Regions from separate parts of the Homo sapiens genome. Here region 1 is linked to region 2. The links are contacts of gene promoters, found by promoter capture Hi-C in human tissues and cell types (Jung and others, 2019). All regions are on one chromosome and are shown on one strand. The core of a region is centred on a gene start or on the middle of the fragment in contact, and the rest is flanking DNA. Distances in the headings are between cores, read along the strand shown. Region 1 has its middle 240 kb from the start of CDH20. Region 2 holds the start of CCBE1 (collagen and calcium binding EGF domains 1).

Region 1 (3,296 bases), core at 337-2,836, 1.4 Mb before region 2:
ATCACGTGATCATGTCAATAGACACAAAAAAGCATTTGACAAAATCTAACACTCATTTATGATAAAATTTTTCAGTATATTTCAAATAAAAGGGAACTCATCAACTTGATAAAGGATATCTATATAAAATTTACAGCTAACATGCTTAGTGGTTACATGTATATGGTCAACTGTTCTTTGACAAAGAAATAAAGGCGATGCAGTGAAGCAAAGACAGTCTTTTCAACAAATAGTGCTGAAAAAAACAGTATATCCATATGCAAAAAAAAAGAATGTAAACACAGAACTTAAATCCCTCACAAAAGTTAGCTCAAAATTGATTGCAGACCTAAATGTAAAATGCAAAACTATAAAAATCCCAGGAGATAACATAGGACAAAATCTAGACGACCTTGATTTTGGCAATAGCTTATAGATATGACATCAAAGACACAACCCATGAATGAAAGAATTGGTAAGCAAGATTTAATTAAAATTAACATTTTCTGTTTTGCAAGAGACACTGTCAAGAGAATGAAAAGACAATACACAGACTTGGAGAAAATGTTTGAAAAACCCTATCTAATAAGGGACTGTATCCAAAATATACTAAGTAGTCTTAAAACTCAACAATAAGAAAACAAACAACCTGCTTAAAAAATGGTCCAAAGATGTTAAAAAAAAATACCTCACCAAAGAAGATAAACATATGGCAAAAAAAAAATAAGAAAAAATGCTTCACATCGTATGTCATCAGGGAAATGCAAATTAAATCAACAATAAGATATGGCCTATTAGAATGGGAAAATTGAAAACATTGACAACATCAAATGTTGGCGAGAATGTGGAGCATCAAGAACTCTTATTCGTCACTGGTGGAAATGAAAAATGACACGGTCACTTTTGAAAACAGTTTGGCAGTTTCTTACAAAACTAGCATACTCTTGCCAAAAGATCCAGTAATCATACTCCTTGGTGTTTATGCCAAGAAGTTGAAAACATGTCTACACAAAAACCTGCACATAAATATTTATAGCAGCTTTATTCATAATTGCCAAAAATTGGAAGCAACCAAGGTGTCCTTCAGCACGTGAATGAATAAATAAACTGTGATACATCCAAACAATCAATGTTATTTAGTGTTAAAAAGAAATGAGCAACCAAGCCATAAAAATATATGGAGTAAACTTAATAATGCGTATTACTAAGTGAAAGAAGTCAACGTGAAAAGGCTAGATACTGTATGATTCCAACTATATGACGTCCTGGAAAAACTGTGGAGAGGGTAAAAAGATCAGTGGTTGTCAGGGGTTGGCGGAAAGGAAAGATGAATAGGCTGAGAACAGAGGATTTTCAGGGCAGTGAAAATACTCTGTATGATGCTAGACTGGTGCATACATGTCATTATACATTTGTCCAGACCCATAGAATGTACACCACCACGAGCAAACCCTAATGTAAACCATGGACTTTGGGTAATTGTGATGTGTCAGTGTAGATGCATCAATTGTAACAAATCTAGCACTTTGGTTGGGGATGTTGATAATGGGGGAAGCTGTACATGTAGGAGGGTAGGGGATAGATGAGATATCCCCATACCAACCTTTCAATTTCGTTATGAACTACTCTAAAAAATAGCATTTTTAAAAAAAACAAGTTTATTCTATCTCATCACCTATTAGAAAATCCACTTTGGGGTAATTTAAGTGCTATTCTATACTAATATACTATATCAATGACATTCTGGTGTAGACTACAAGAAACTTCTAAAGAAGAGACAGAAGAGTATCAGCACTAATCTGTTAAGTCACTCTTGTATAGTTCCTTTCCCTTTATATTTAAGCAGTGTGTATGGTGGAGATGGTGGTGAGGCAGCAGGTAGGGTAATACCAAGATAACATATGGATGAAAAAATGTTACATAGTGTAATGAGAATTAGCTTTAAAAGGGCAATTGTTTCTATTTTAAATGTCTATTAAAAGTAAGTCACATAAGTTATGGTTTTTAATATGTGATATTTATTTAAATGTTGTCTAAGAGGAGGGTTATAGTATATTGGAGGTGCTAAAGAAACTCTCTAATATGTTAGAATATTAGTTTCAAATCCTGACTTAAACACTGAGTAGCTCTGAAGCCTACATTTATTTTCTTTCTTTCCCTTCCTTCTTTCTTCCTTCTTATTTCTCCTCATTCTTTCTTTTTCTTTCCTCTGACAGGATCTTACTCTGTCTTCCAGGCTGGAGTGCAGTGGTGCAAACATAGCTCACTGCAGCCTCAAACTCCCAGGCTCAAACCATCCTCCCATCTCAGCCTCCCTAGTAGCTGGGACCCAGACATATGCTATTTTTCATATTATTTTTCATATTATTTGTAGAGACGAAGGTCTCCCTATGTTGCCCAGGCTGATCTTTAACTTCTGGGGAAACCTGAATTTCATAATCCCTCTGCACCAAGACTTCCTTAGCTGGAGAGTAGGGAGTATGGAGTTATTGTGCGGGCTGACTAAACATTTTCTGAGAATGAGGCACCTTCACCTCATTATTTAATTCTGAATGTCAAATGTCATTACTTGAATCTGAAACTGATACACACACACACACACACACACACACACACACACACACACACACTCTCTCTCTCTCTCTCTCTCTCTCTCTCTCTCTCTCTCCATCTTATTTGGATCTAAGCCAAAACTGAGAATGTGGGCCATCTGCTGGTGACTTTTGGAACTTCAGACACATGTTTCCCAGGCCTTCACGTTTGAGGGGATAGGTAAGCATCTATGTAGAATGTCAGAATTGTGGGTAACCTTAGAGATTATCCCATGTAGCCTTCATTTTTATAGTGATTTGCACATGTTGGCTTTTAGCCGGTTGCAGAACCAAGACATGAACCCAAGTTGTCTGACTCCGAGTTGTGTGTAGACCTAAAGCATCAGGGGCAGCGGAGGATTGCTGTCACAAAGTGGGAGAGTTTCAGACAAGGAAGGACAGATTTGGAACACTGGGAGAGAAAACGTTTTCTCCGCTCCACACTTGGGCGGCTGCACTATGTGTGGAGAATATTGGCCTGTGAGTCAAGGTAACCACAGAAAAATGGTACATAATGGATTTTATCATTGCACCCTATATCTTCTCCACTCCAATAAGTCTCCCCTTCCTGCCAACCCTCATGCTTATCTTGTCAGATGCTCAGATACTAGCAGCTGCAAGTTTCTTCCTGAGTTTACCTATTATTCGCTTTCCTTTTATCATCAAAACTACTGGGAGGGTAGGCGATTATCTGATCAAATAATCTGATTATCCAATGGACAACAT
Region 2 (3,264 bases), core at 342-2,841:
AAAATCTTAGGAAAAGACATAGCATTCTACGGAAGAATGACAATGTCATTGCTATCAAAAATATCAGTGTGGGCTGGCTGCTATGGCTCACGCCTGTAATCCCAGCACTTTGGGAGGCCGAGTTGGGCAGATCACTTGAGGCCAGGAGTTTAAGAGCAGCCTGGCCAACATGGTGAAACTCTGTCTCTACTAAAAATACAAAAATTAGCCGGGTGTGGAAGCATGCATCTGTAATCCCTGCTACTTGGGGTGCTGAGGCAGAAGAATCTCTTGAACCCGGCAGGCGGAGGTTGCAGTGAGCCAAGATCGAGACACTGCACTCCAGCCTGGGCGACAGAGTGAGACTCCGTCTCAAAAAAAAAAAAAAGTCAATGTGTATGTGATATGTGTGGTAATTCTCAGTTGACCAGCATATTCTGTATATCAAAATATGTGCTTACCTAACCAATTTACACACCGGTCACTTGTGAACAAGCCACCTTTTTACCTCGTTGTCCTGTGAGATGCAGAACCACGCATATTTTAGAGCTTAGGCATTAGAACTTTTCCTTTTTCAACTTATTTCTGGGCCACATCCACGTCCCCAGTTTCTCTGGAAAAGGCTGAGAAAACTCCTAAAGCGCAACAAAGTGTTAAGTTGCTGACACACGAATTACAATTAGGGTCACCGTCAAGGGAGCCGATTTACGGCCCCCCTCCTCCGTTTTCTTGTTACCTATCAACGCGGCTGCATACACTAGCAGGTAGCAGCACCTGTAATTAATTTGCCCCCACGTGTCTCATTTGATGGGGGGGGGCGTTTCCAGCTCTGATGTGCGCGGCGTGGAAACAGTATTAAAGCCGCTCAGGACAAGGAGATGTAAGGCTCCCAGAAAGACCTCCTTACTTGTTCCGAACTCGAGTTATGAAGAAGACAGCGCATGGTTTATTGACCAATGAAACAACCAGAGAACTTTCTTCTAAAGGTTTTAAGGAAGAGTGATTACACTATATAAATAGCGCTATTTCAGGTTTGAACAATTTGAGAGGCCCGTTGTAGCCTTTCAACTCCTCCTTCCTCACATAATCTAAGAGAAAAGAAGACTAAGATAGTTGCAAATCTCAGGGTAGGTCCTCACGGAGGAAAGACGAACACTGGCCTGACCCTGGGCTTTAGAAACCCATGGACAACAGGAAGGAAGCTTATTAACCCCTCTCTTCCCCCTCCCTCTTCTCCCCGGTGGAGAATCAGCTCCTCCTCCTCCCGGTCGTGAGACCCTGGTGCAAAATGCAAACAACCGCCCGCTTTCCCCACCCTGCGCGCTTCTCCCAGAGGAGGGAGAGGGAAGAGGCGAGGGCGCAGCCCCAAGCCGAGTCCAGCAAGTCTGTCAATCGGACGTGAACGTCCCGACGAGACAACTTGAACCTCAGGGCCCTCGCGCCAGCCGGACACCGCAGGTACCCCCTTTACCTGCTTCTCTGCTGGGTTTGCATCCGATACCCCAACTCCTAGCCTCATTTTCCCCCCAGCCCCATAATATTCCGGACCCCTGCTCCCCGTGCAGGTGGTGCAAACGCCCCTGCTCTCCGGCGCCCCCTGCCGGGAAGAGGGAAGGCGGCGGCGGCCGCGGAGGAGCAGGACGCTTGGTCCGGACGGAGCTCGGCGCTGGGAAGAAGCCGGGAGCTTCCCTGATGGTGCCGCCGCCTCCGAGCCGGGGAGGAGCTGCCAGGGGCCAGCTGGGCAGGAGCCTGGGTCCGCTGCTGCTGCTCCTGGCGTTGGGACACACGTGGACCTACAGAGAGGAGCCGGAGGACGGCGACAGGTAAGCGCTGCAAGCCCCAGCGGAGGGCGAGCTCCTGCTTGATGCGCGCCCGGCTCGCGGGGTGCGGGCGGTCCTCCCCGGCGCCCACTCCCACAGCGATCCGCACGCCCTCACTTCTCCGGGGATAAGGAGAGTGCTCAGCTGTCCTGGGCGACACTTCCCTCCGCTCCCGGGTATCAGCCTTTGCGCCCTGCCATCCGTGGGTCGCGTCAGGGATACCCTTCGCCCCGCGTTCCTGCCTCCCCCCGGGTGCCACACTGGCTGGCACAGCTCGTGAACCCCGCTTCCTTTCTCCTGGAGCTGGTTCGCTTCGTCGTGACCCTCGCGTGGCTCGTCCCTGTGGCCGGAGTCTGCCCCGCGTACGCGTTTGGGGACCAGCCCCTGCCCAGAGCGCCGGGACGGGGAGCCTGGCGATCCCCACGCGCCAGGGATTCCCCAGCGCGCGCTGCCCGCCTCCGCTCTCCCGCTGAGAATCGAACATTTCCTCTGCACTTTTTCATAGAGAAATCTGCTCAGAGAGCAAAATCGCGACGACTAAATACCCGTGTCTGAAGTCTTCAGGCGAGCTCACCACATGCTACAGGTAAGCCTGGGGGCTCTGCGGGCTGTTCGCCACTGCGCACCGGGGCTGGCTGGGGAGGCGGCGCTGTAAAGGAGGGGTTTGGAGACGCGCTTGGGACCGGAGCAGCTTTTACGCTGGAACCTGCTGGGTGCGTGCCGCGCGGTGCGAATCTTTGAGGGTTGGTTGGATCGGAGTCAGAGCAACACTGAGCAACTGACTTTGCGTCTAGGGTGTGTGCCCTGAGATCCTGAGGATGGTTGCCGCTCCCTGAAATACTTGTGTGGAAGTCTGTGAAGGAGATTGGATTGGATTTTGGGTGTAAACAGTGGGGCATAGCAAACACGGGTGGCTGCTTTCGTATTTGTGTTTTGTTTTGAAAGTACAGCGTCAACAAGGCAATTCTTGGCACTTGTCTGTCTTCTGACCTTCTGTTGGGGCAGAGTGTGGCTGTCACGGCCTCTGGACAAAAAAGTAGGGGGAGGATTGTGAGTGGTTGTGTTGAGTGAAAACAAAAAGATTGTTGGGGCAGAGGAAAAAAGTCTTTCTAAAAATGTGGGCCACAGATTCACCTGGGTATTTGTTAAATGAGTGACCCGGGTGCTTGTTAAAACTAAGCGTGGATGGGGCTAGGGAATCGGTAGTTATAAAATGTTCCCCAGGTGGTTCTTGTCTCTGAAAGGAGAGAACCACTGTTCTGCTTGCAGCCTTTTGGAGATGAGGGTTGATTTAGGTTTTTCACCATTGAATTCTTGGTTCTGTTCCAGTGCTCTCACTGGATAGGGGAACATGCACCCATAAACGTTTATTGGATATCTGCGTTTTAGAGGCGCTGTACAAGGTAATGTGATCATATGCCCACACCTGACTGTCTCTGGAGACTCACATGCTCTGTTCGGGTTG

What was found. Contacts are between HindIII fragments. The study calls those that stand out against the background at their distance.
Region 1: a contact is called between a fragment that was not itself captured here and the fragment with the promoter of CCBE1 in region 2, in 1 of the 25 tissues and cell types used here (lymphoblastoid cells).

The regions. Positions count from the first base shown.
Region 1 is chr18:61,088,279-61,091,574 of GRCh38, reverse strand. No RefSeq gene overlaps it. Among named protein-coding and RNA genes, the nearest start is that of CDH20, 240 kb to the left of the region's middle. The HindIII fragment of the contact is 6,944 bases long and covers 1-3,296 here.
Region 2 is chr18:59,695,750-59,699,013 of GRCh38, reverse strand. CCBE1 (collagen and calcium binding EGF domains 1) reads left to right here and starts at 1,591. Exons shown (of 11, transcript NM_133459.4): 1 at 1,591-1,802; 2 at 2,305-2,385. The coding sequence starts at 1,672. The HindIII fragment of the contact is 11,314 bases long and covers 1-3,264 here.